Linked DNA regions of Homo sapiens: regions 2 and 3 are each linked to region 1. Evidence: promoter capture Hi-C in 16 types of primary human blood cells and fetal thymus (Javierre and others, 2016). All regions are on one chromosome and are shown on one strand. Each heading gives the region's core, a stretch centred on a gene start or on the middle of the fragment in contact. The rest is flanking DNA. Distances are from core to core; before and after follow the strand shown. Region 1 holds the start of CPA2 (carboxypeptidase A2). Region 2 has its middle 14 kb from the start of MESTIT1. Region 3 overlaps COPG2 (coat protein complex I subunit gamma 2).

The links. Contacts are between HindIII fragments. The CHiCAGO score rates a contact against its expected background, and 5 or more counts as called.
Region 2: a fragment that was not itself captured here is called in contact with the fragment with the promoter of CPA2 in region 1 in 1 of 17 cell types (megakaryocytes); the score reaches 5.1 in megakaryocytes.
Region 3: a contact is called between a fragment that was not itself captured here and the fragment with the promoter of CPA2 in region 1, in 5 of 17 cell types (megakaryocytes, M0 macrophages, naive CD4 T cells and 2 more). The highest score is 7.7, in megakaryocytes.

What each region holds. Positions count from the first base shown.
Region 1 is chr7:130,265,129-130,269,005 of GRCh38, reverse strand. It overlaps CPA2 (carboxypeptidase A2), which reads right to left and starts at 2,143. Exons shown (of 11, transcript NM_001869.3): 1 at 2,054-2,143; 2 at 1-77. The coding sequence starts at 2,124. The HindIII fragment of the contact is 5,023 bases long and covers 1-3,435 here.
Region 2 is chr7:130,474,815-130,478,603 of GRCh38, reverse strand. No RefSeq gene overlaps it. Among named protein-coding and RNA genes, the nearest start is that of MESTIT1, 14 kb to the left of the region's middle. The HindIII fragment of the contact is 5,266 bases long and covers 1-3,789 here.
Region 3 is chr7:130,508,862-130,512,709 of GRCh38, reverse strand. All of the region lies in intron 20 of COPG2 (coat protein complex I subunit gamma 2), which reads left to right. Among named protein-coding and RNA genes, the nearest start is that of MIR335, 15 kb to the right of the region's middle. The HindIII fragment of the contact is 1,333 bases long and covers 1,718-3,050 here.

The DNA.
Region 1 (3,877 bases), core at 894-3,393:
GATGTTCTTGAGCCTCCAATTGTAGCAGATTTTTAATTTGTTCTTCATTGCTTGGTACAATCTCAAGAACTTGGTCTCTAAAGAAAATTAACCACAAATATGACCTTAAAAGCAAAACCTGGACACTGTTTCCTGTTGCTTTCTGCACCTGTTAGTCTCTGCGTATAACAGATTAATGCAACAGTCAATAATCTCTGTGACAATCCAGAAACTAATAAATAGTATACTAAACCCACATCGCCAGAATGAGAAGGTGATAGAATGGCGTTATTTCCTCCCAGGAAATGTTATCTAAATAATAATGAATAGGTGTACCTGCTCCTAGCAGGAAGCCTGCCATTAAAGTTACCTTTCCCATAGCTAATGAGTCAAATAAAACCTGCTGCTTGTGGAGTGTTATAGCTTTTAATACTTGCCTGTTCCTGTTGTTCAGAAGTAAGTTTTTAAAAAGTGGAATAATTTGGTGCTTGTAAGAGGAAACAATTCATATGTGGGTAGTCCTAAGATTTTGTTTTTAATGGTTTTGGGGGTTTTGTTTGTTCTTTGATTTTGTCAACTGAAAATGTATCAAGGTTCCATCCCCAGACCCCATTCATGGGGCCCAAACATGGGGCATGGCCAGAGATAGTTGGGACCCTGACAAATTATGTGCCGTGCCTCTCTTTACAAACACACACACACACACACACACACACACACACACACACACCCCCTTAATAGGGAATGAAGGATGAACAGGAAAGAGAAATCTCAAAACAATCAAGCACATCTCTTTAGGAAGAGTTCCCTTGGTGACAGAGTTTCCCCTTCTAGCCTTTCTCCACGTAGGCAGACTTCCTAAGTCACTGCCCCAACTGTTTGTGCAGTGGGGAAGGAATCAATACAATGAGCCATGTACAGGGACCAGAATATGGGTCTTCTGAAACCAAGCTCCATGCAATTTCCTACGAACTCCAGTGGAATACAGAAGTGATGGAATGTGAGCTCTTCGAGGCTCACCTGCCACAAATGGTCTGAAAATTCTTCCATTTAAGTCTCATTATTTTCGGTTAATGCATGGACTCCCAGGAGTCCTCCTTTAAAATGGGAAGGCACTGAGAAAAGTAATACAACAGGGTCATATTTCCTGGTGTGTGTTCTAAAGAATAGTAGTTCTTTGAGTTACTCAGTGAAAGAAAGAAAGAAAGAAAGAAAGAAAGAAAGAAAGAAAGAAAGAAAGAAAGAAAGAAAGAGAAAGAAAGAAAGAAAGAGAAAGAGAAAGAAAGAAAGGGCAAGCTGGGAGCAGTAGGTAGTTTATGATTAAAAAAAAGAGTACATGCTGCAACCTAGATCCCCTCTTATAGATTTATAATGCACACTGATTTAGCCAAGGCTCCTAGAAATCCTATAGTTTGTTTAATCCTCTGATTCCCACATTTATTTGACCAGTGGCTTTTTGGGACCAAACTTATTTGATTGCTTTCTTAGCTCCCTGGACCACTCTTCAAAAAATGCTGCCTGAAACCCTTCATAGAATCATGAAGCAAAGTACTTTGGAGCAAAGATGAGTCCTCCAAAGCCAGGAGAGGAGGAGTTGAGCTGAAATCTATAGCCCTGGCCTTTCTACTTCATGAGGTTCCACCACCTAGGTGCTGAATCTAAAGATCGGGGGTTAGGGCACAAGGGCTAACGTGGATGGTAAAGCCCAGAAGAGCAGGAGGAGGTGGGAGAGTAGCATTGACACCCGCTGAGTTGCCTGGAACAAATGGCCACACAGCTGTATTTTCCCTGATGTCTATCATCCCTACAGTCTGATCACTGGAGGGAAAAATGAGTAAGGACAGAGAGAAATAGGGTTATGTGTGTTCAGTTTTCACTTTTGTCTTTTCCTTTAAATGTCATTCACCTCCTTTTTGATCATCCACTCCTTTTTTTCACACTATTGACTTATCCCCAAATCTAAGAGAACTTCTCTGAAAACACTGAACACTTATACCCATTTACTCTGTAACAATCAAAGCCTCCATCAATCAGGTAAGTAAAATTCAAAGAAGCACCAGAAAGCATAACTTACCCCACAAATGTTTCTAGACAGTAGATATGCCCAAAAAGGGCACCAAAAAACAGGATCAACCTCATGGCCATGGGTTTTCCTGGAGTCCAGAATTCAGAGTCCTTCCTGAACTTTATTTGTAGGGATGGCAGCTGAGGGTGATCTGCTGGCCTTCTGAGAACTCACGTGAATTCCCACATGGGAAAATTCCCACCTGCATGTGAAATTCTCAAGGTTGTAGACATCCACCTGTGTGATATCACCAATGTGTACATGTTCCATTCCTAGGATAAGATAACAAACTTTGATGGAAAGAGAACAAAATTGCTAGAGCATACCAAGGGCAATATAGTTATGATTGAGACCATAAAACGCCACTAGCTACCCTGTGATAGAAGCCAGATTAATAGACCTAGAGGTTAAAGTCTTTTCTGGGTCTCTGACACACACACAAAAAAAAGGCCAGAGCATTTATAGTAATTACTCAGGCATCCTGTCTATCACATTCCATTAGTTTGCTCATTTGTTTATTTTTATAATGTTTACCTTGAAACACTGCAGTCACTCAGTCCACATCTGCTGAGTGTCCCTGTAGATGTGGCCCATTCCAATCCTCACTCTACATTAAAACAAAACAGAAGGCCTTTTAATATTCAATTTTGCACTTTCTCGAAAGTGATCCATCTGCATTTGCACCAAATTGATATCCCTCTTTCTGTGCTTTTTCCCAAAATGAAAATGTCTTTCTGATGACATTTCCTATAACAAGCAACAATGAAGTTGCTTGTTATAAAAAGTGTGAATTAAAAGAAAGTGTTTTCTTTAACCATCAATAATTCTTCCATCCAAAGAAAACCATTTGGCATATGTCTTTCCAAATTTCTTTCTCTGCTTTCGAGTTTTTTTCTTAAACAAAGATTAGACCATATCACGTATACTGTTCTTTAAACAAAGGTGATCTTTTCTTGTTCATAAACATAGATCTACATTAATCTGACTTTGTTCTTCATTGCTTAAGAAGAAAATATAACTGCTTATTTTTAGAAACCATAGTTTATTTAATTTTAGTTGTTCATACACGTTATATTAAGCCTAGAAAGCCTCAACCACAACAAGCAGCAAGGAAATTTTCGTCTGTCCTTTGTGTGTCAAATTTATCAGCACACACTTTAAATCTCTGGGTTTGCATTCTCAAATATCTGCTTTAAGGGGAAAGGTATATACACAGTGTTTCTGATTTTAAGAATGACTGGATTAACTTGGTTTTTCATTCTCCTGGGAGTCAGAGAGAAGACAGAAACCAAAAGGCAGAGGCCATAATTCATCCTCATGTCTCCAGCACCTATCAAATAAACAGTAGTTCAATAAACTGGAAGTATGTACTTGGAGAATCAATAAAAGCTTCCTGGAAAAAATCAAGTTTCAGGCTGGGCTCAGTGGCTCACGCCTGTAATCCCAGCACTTTGGGAGGCCAAGGCAGGTGGATCACGAGGTCAGGAGATCGAGACCATCCTGGCTAGCATGGTGAAACTCCGTCTCTACTAAAAATACAAAAAGTTAGCCGGGTGTGGTGGCGGGAGCCTGTAGTCCCAGCTACTCAGGAGGCTGAGGCAGGAGAATGGTGTGAACCCGGGAGGCAGAGCTTGCAGTGAGCCCAGATGGCACCACTGCGCTCCAGCCTAGGCAACAGAGTGAGACTCCGTCTCAAAAAAAAAAAAAAAAAAATGGAGTTTGAGCTGAGCCTTTGTGCCAAGGCAAATGTGAAAAGAGCCTGGATTTCTGGTGGTAAGAAAATATAAGCTAGACAGGGAACCAGGGGAGAGCACATGATACACAGCTGGGTTA
Region 2 (3,789 bases), core at 129-2,628, 210 kb before region 1:
CAAGACAAAGAAATAAAAGGCATACACACTGGAAAGGAAGAAGTAAAACTCCTCCTACTTACATACGACAAGATTGCATATGTTGAAAATCCTAAGGAACTTACAAAAAACCCACCAGAACCAATAAGTAAGTTTGGCAAGATTGTAGAACATGAGGTTAATATACAAAATCAATTGTATCTCTATTTACTAACAATGAATAATTAGAAATTGTATTTTAAACAATACCACTTACAATAACATCAAAAAATATGGAATACTTATAGAAAAATTAAATAAAATGTTACAAGATCTGTACACTGAGAACATTACTGAGAAAAATCAAGGAAGATCTAAATAAGTGAAGAGTTATACCATGTTCATGGATTGGAAAGCTCAATACTGTTAAAATGTCAATTCTTTCAAAATTGACCCGTAGATTCAACATAATCACAATGAAAATTTGGGCAGGCTTTTTTTGTAGAAAATAACAAGCCGATTCTAAAGTTTATGTGAAAATGCAAATGAGTAGGTGGGACTATAGGCTCATACCACCATACCCAGATAATTCTGGACTGACTCTAAATGGACTTGCTTGGACATATACCCTTCCCTGAACACTGGGACTCTAATGACCAGGCCTGGGTCACAGGAACCATGCTTGGAGCTGAGTAGCAACAGGGTGGTATCAGCCCCACACTGAATAGTGGTTCCTAAAAAGAGAAAAGAAAAAAGAGAAAAAAAAGAGGCCCTGATAGAATAAAGGCACTGACAAGCAAACACAGCTGATGACTATTATGATGCACTACTTTGGGAATCAGGACAAAAATATATATTTTTTAATCTTTAGAATAACTGAGCCCAAGGCAACATGCTTTGGTGCTCTTTTAACAGAGCATAACATAAAGGAAGAGAGATGCATTCCTTGGTCCACATATCAGTGTCCTCTGAGATGGACTGAAGAAGAGCTAAGAAGATGCGACCCAAGAGCTAAGAAGAGCTACAAAGATGCCACTCCTTCCTTGCCAAAACAGAACATAACCTGTAGAATGAGGTGGAGGTAAGATTGGGCTTGGAGGGGATTGGTAAAGTCCCTTAAAAAGAAATGGCATAGGAAGTTGGCTAAAGATGAGTAAAGGATTTCTGAGCCAAGTCAAGCTGCAGGATGGAACCATTCTGGGCCATGGGGTTGGCTGAAACTCTTGTGGGGTCACTTTGTGCACCATGAGTATTTGAGCTCCTGGATGGAGACATCGCATTTCTGAAGTGGCAGACTCATTTTGCCTGATGGTAAGTAATTTTAAACATTTTAATATCAATACAAAAGGAATCTATTATAAAGTAGAATGCAAACACTGAATGCATTTTTAACACAAAATACACATTTCTTGCTTGCAGTGATCCCTTCAGACTGCTTTCATTTTTCTCCTTTGCATGTTTTCAGTCTTCGCTCTTAGGAATACTTTGTTGGAAAAAATTTGAAAAAATGCCTCCTTAAAAAGTAAGGGCTGGGATCAGGGATGTTCTTGAGATTTTTACAGTGTCCAGACACTTTGCCAGAAGAGGAAACCAGGCAAGTATTCAGAATGAAAAGGTTTGGGATTCTGAGGACAAGGCTAACACCTGGTGGGGTTGGCAGAACCGATGTAAGCCTATGAATGAGGGACTGAGGTTTGGAAGCTGCTCACACAAACCTTAAGAGCAGCTGCGTTCCTGGGGAACATCTCATGTGCAAAGTATGGGATCCTGCCCTGGCTTGAGGTCTGGACTAGCATCTCTTGGTAGGAGTAGGAATCTAGTGTTCTTGGAGAGGCAGATTCATTTCTGGGGTCAGGGGAAGTTCATCTTAAAACCAGCTCTAGTGAACCAGCTTTTAGTTTCAGAATTGGTGGAAGAGAGAGATAAAACCCACAGGTTTCGAGTTCACAGGTATAATAAAACACAAGAGCTCAAGAAAGGGCCATAAAAATAAAAAGACATTTTAATACCACAAAAGCGAGAAGGACAAAATAGAAATGACTACCCTTCCCCAGAAAAAGTTCATTCACTGGCACCTGGCCTTATTTTTTTTCCTTTCATTACTGGCCAGAAAAAAACTTCCTCACAGACTACATCATCCGAGGGACCAGGAACCACTGAAGAACAGGCGGGGTGCTCCTCTCATGCATTCTAGGATGACAGGAAAATTACCCCAGGATGACTCTATTCAAAGATGGGCTGAACGAACAGCTTCTGGCCATCAGCACGAAACCTGCAGCCTGACCACAAGAGGTCCAAAGATACTCCCGTGTCTGTCTCTCCTGTTTGGGGCCCTCTGGAAATTTTAATCAATAAGTCTTGATTATCATAGAGGCTTTTAAAGCACAGAAAATGAGGCAGGTGGAGTGAAGTGGGAGAATTAAATTGGCAATATAGCTTCTTCGACTGAAGCAGTTGAAAAAATTAAATAATTACAATGCCAAAGGCAAAGAAGAAAAAGAAAAAGGAAAAAAAAATACAATCAGCCTACACCCGGAGCATTAGGTTCTGAAAATCCAATTTGCACATAAAAAGTCGAAGGGTCTTTGCTGAGGGGGCAGGGGCTGAGGACTCACTAGTGAGCAGGGGACCGTTGCCCTGGAGACAGGTCTTAGCTTGGAAATGGCAAATAGGAAAATTACAAGGGCTTCAGGGAGAAAGAGGGAAAGAAAGGCACGACTTAGGATGGTTGAAATCTTAGAACCCAGACGAGACTACATAAAAGCAACGTACTTAAAAGGACGAATACAGATTTAACTGCTCTAATAAATGAAGACAGGAATGAGGAGGCTATTTTAGTTAATATTTGGTGGTTAAAATGGGTGATCAGGCACTTAAGGACTTTAACAGAAGAGAGAAGGGAAATTTGTTAGGAGCAGAAACCGGGACACACTTGCCTGTTTCCTTGCCTCTACCCAAGAGGGTACTATTGAAATGCTCCTTCAGACAGCCATTGATAGAGAAATAAGAGTAAATATTATTTCACAGAGCATCCTCCTTAGCGCCTCTGACAATAATCTGAGGTGGCAGATGCAAGAGGGGGAAGTCTGGAGCTATTAGTGCAAAATGCACCCATATTAATTGGCCAGTTCCAAGGCAAGGCAATGATTGAGGGGGAACGGCTTGGGAAACTATGGCTAGGAGGTTTCAGGGTTAAGACTTTGCAAGAGTTGGTCTGGACACAACCCCCTGCAAAGTGGTTAAGGGTTTTGGTACTGAATTTGGATCCCCAAGAGGCCAGAGCTAGAGAAGGGACTCCTGCCTGGGTGACACGGAGCATGAAGAGCCAGTGAGATGGGGTCAAAGGACTCAGAGATAAGACAAAACCAAGGAGGGCTGGGCGCGGTGGCTCACGCCTGTAATCCCAGCACTTTGGGAAGCTGAGGCGGGCAGATTACTTGCGATCAGGACTTCGAGACAGCCTGGCCAACATTTTGAAACCCTGTCTCTACACTAAAAATACAAAAATTAGCCGGGTGTGGTGGTGCACGCATGTAACCCCAGCTAATTGGGAAGCTGAGGCAGGAGAATCGCTTCAACCTGGGAGGCAGAAGTTGCAGTGAGCCAAGATCATGCCACTGCACTCCAGCCTGGGCGACAGAGCAAGACTCTGTCTCAGAAAAAAATAATTAAATAAATAAAGAGAAAACCAAGGAGAACCAAGCCCAAGAGGATGAACACAAAGGACAAACGTGGAGCTAAAAACAGTAGCCAACAACAAAGGAAAAATAAATGGGATCATTGGATAACACAGGGAGACAGACCCTGGACAATTGCTGACTATGGACCAAC
Region 3 (3,848 bases), core at 1,135-3,634, 240 kb before region 1:
GCAGTGGCGTGATTTTGGCTCACTGAAACCTCCAGGATTACAGGCATGTGCCACTACGCCCAGCTAATTTTTGTATTTTTACAAAAATTTTTAGTAGAGACGGGGTTTCACCATCTTGGCCAGGCTGGTCTCAAACTCCTGACCTCAAGTGATCTGCCAGCCTCAGCCTCCCAAAATGCTGGAATTACAAGTGTGAGCCACTGCACCCGGCCTTACCATCTCTACAGAAATAGATATAGACTTTTTTACTTCACTCTTCATAATCACCCATTCCCCATCTAGTAGCAATAATCCATTCTCTGGACAAACTACATGTTCACACTCTCTTAATAAATCAAGCCTAATATTTCTAAAGTTGCCATCTATAGCTTTTTTGTTGTTTTTTGTTTTTTTTTTTTAGATGGAGTTTTGCTCTTGTTGCCCAGGCTGGAGTGCAATGGGGCTTGGCTCATGTTAAATTGTCAGAGTTGTATATTAACAAGGAGAGTTGTGTATTAACAAGGAGAGTTAACAAGGCTCACCAACTCGGCTTACCACAACCTCTGCCTCCTGGGTTCAAGTGATTCTCCTACCTCAGCCTCCCAAGTAGCTGGGATTACAAGCATGGGCCACCACGCCCGGCTAATTTTGTATTTTTTTTTTTTTTTTTTTTTTTTTAGAAGACACAGTGTTTCACCATGTTGGCCAGGCTAGTCTTGAACTCCCAACCTCAGGTGATCCACCTGCCTCAGCCTCCCAAAGTGCTGGGATTACAGGCGTGAGCCACTGCACCCGGCCCATCTATAGCTTTTTATCAGCATTCATCAGTTTATAACTTTCCTATCAAGCAAGTCCTTTAATTAGCCATTCCCTCAAAAGCTTTAAGAGCTAGTCTGCTGCTGCCTCCTACTGAATTCCTTGCTCCTTAACCCTTTCTGTGTATTTCCCATGCAGCCGACCATTTAGACCTAGACAGGATACCCCATTCTAAATCTTTATTCCACACCTGCTCTGCCAGTAGGCCCTTCCTTATGTAATATTTTCTTTCCTTTGCTTCCAGTCTCTTATTTCATACTCTCTTATGACTTTTGGCCCAGCAATGCTGTCTTACCTTCCTGTTGATGTGTGTCATTCCTTAGTGACCAACTCCTTTTCATCTGAGGACAACTCTAATGTTGCTTTCCAGTACCATTCCTCCTTCCCTTTCTGAATTTGTCCTAGAGAAAAACTCCCTCCCACCATTTGTACAGCATTCCCACAGACTCAACACGATTTTCCAGGTAGGTGTGTATTGCTTATTTTGGCACTCACTGCCCAGCTTTCCTCGATGTCCTACACACTATGCTGCACCCATTGCTTCTCAGTTCAGTCCAGACCTGCATAGACTGCTGCAGTTAGCCTGTACAGATCCATCTCTTTTGCCTTCTTTCTAATCTTTTGCCCTAGTGACATACCCTTTTCTTTAATTATTATTCTAACAAAGCTTTCTGGAAATACCTCATAAGTGTCTCTTACTTTGTCATGGTCTCCCCCAGGTGGTTGAGACCTGGCAGCTCCCTCCCACCTTTCCCACTCTGCCCTTTGCCACACTGCATTTTCTGTACCCTGGCCCAACTCACATGTCCCTCTCCTGTCTTAGCTGCCAGCATCTATCTTTTCTCTAATTCGCTGGGTTCTTTTCATACAAATCTCCTTAGTGGTTGACTCTCATTTTCAGTGAATCCTCACAAGACAAGCTTAATTTCAGAGAACAGTTTTAATGCAGATCTTCAGGGCATTCTTTCCTGATTCTCTTTGGTATTTGCCTTGCTTTGTCTGTGTAACTCTCATATTTACATTATGGCAGTGCATTCAGTATTTTCTTGCCATGGAAAGGCCCCCGCATCTTGCCTCCTCGCCCCATTTCGTCATCCTCTCCAGCAGCTTCGACAGATTACTGCCTAGACTTCCTTAGATCCCTGTAACCTCTCATTGTATCAATCAAACCATTTAAGTAAAAAAATTCCCACTAAGGTTTCAGGAACATTATCTCTACTAACACCATTCCTATTTACTTCCTTAATCTCTTTCTCTGTATCAGGTCCTTATATGTAAGTGTCTTCTGTCTTTACCTCCACATAAAACTCAGCCCCTGTGCCCAGTCTGTGATCTGCCTTCATACCTGATGTTGTCTCTTTGTCCTCCTCATTTGCTGTAGCCTCTCTGCTTAATTGGAACCACACTGGGTTGCTATAATTAATGTCTCTCCTGACTCTTCATTCTAACTTGATCATGACCTTTTCCCCTACCATATTCTGTATCTCTTTCATGGTTTAAAAAAAATGCCTCACCTGACCTGTTCTGGCCTTGTGTTAACTTTCACTTCTTTCCCCTTCTCTCTGAAGAAAATCCTATCCTAATTAAACCACAGTCGTTCTTTTCTCAACCCCTAATGGCATTGAAATTGATTCTGCAGGCTTGATAGGTTCATTCTTTCCTATATGGGAAAACCCACTGCCATCGTCTGTTTTCAGCATATTCTGTTGAATCCATCTGCTCTCTGAATTCAGACCCATTCTTCATAGTCCCCACCAGTGGCTTAAATTAGGCACCTTATCTAGCTTATCTCTAACCTTTCAATCTCTTGACTGCCTCAGCTCACCAGAGCCTGTTGGAAAATCATTTGAAATACAAGGTATTTTACAATTTATTCCTAAACAAATTATCTTCTCAGCACCTAGGCATTAGCATGCCTCTTACTGTTTCCAGCTGCCCGGTGGACTTTCTGGCCTCTTTCCTTTTGCCTGTTTGTACATCTTCCTCTGCTTGCCAAAGCTCTTTTGCATCTTTTGAGAGCCAGTTAAACTATTATATCGTTTCACATTTTTTACAGTTTTCCCAGGCTATTTGTTAATCCCGCACCCTCACATGGCACTCTCTTAAAACTTAAAGGATCTATGGCATTGAGTTGTAAAGTCATAGATAGATCACACACACACACAGCCCACACACTTATTTAACTCCTAGACAGCTCCTAGAGACAGAGATCATGTCTCAGTCATCTTTTTATCCAAGTGTCTGGCACATAAGCTTATACCTTTACGTGTAATGTCAACATGTATTGACAGTCACTACATGTGTGGATGGATGAATGGATGGAATTTAAAGTCAAGACTGAGCAGATGAAAGTCTTATTACCCAATCTGTCGTATATGGTCTTCACATCTGAGCCTGTTCTTTCCTCTCCTTGCCTATCCCCCAAATAACTTTTTAACTCTCCCAATATCTAATATTTTTTGTACCTATAAGCTTTTTCCAGACCATAGACAAGATCCTAAATGCCTTTTCTTCATCCCTGCTTGCTAAATCCCCTCCTTCAAACATTTCAGAAAATACTGTCTTTACTTTTTATAAAGACTTCACTTTCCAAAAATGTACCCCCACCTCCATTTCTTATTACTTAACACCACTTGTGTGAAAACATACAACTGCCCACTTGCTTTTCCATTTAAGACACTGACTTTACCAATACTAGAAACTCATTACTGACCTACTCACTTTAGGCTGAAGGTTGACAGATAAAGCAAGTTCTCTCTGGTGATCTGTGGACCCGCCATCAGTCCACAATCTAAAGATAGTATTGAGATGCTGATGAGATTGGTCAATGTTAATCTGATGATCTGTATGCTTTTTACCACAGGTTTTTTTTTTGTTTTTTTTTTTGGTCAGGTCCTACAGCAGTGGTTCTCAAAATATTTATTTTTCAACATTTAGGCCCCTTTGATAGGCATGGCAAAAAGCCCCCAAAAGTACCTCTCTGCTGCTTTCTTCATACCAATAGAGAAACAGTCTGCCCATGTTATCATTTCTGTACTGCTGTAACCCACAGC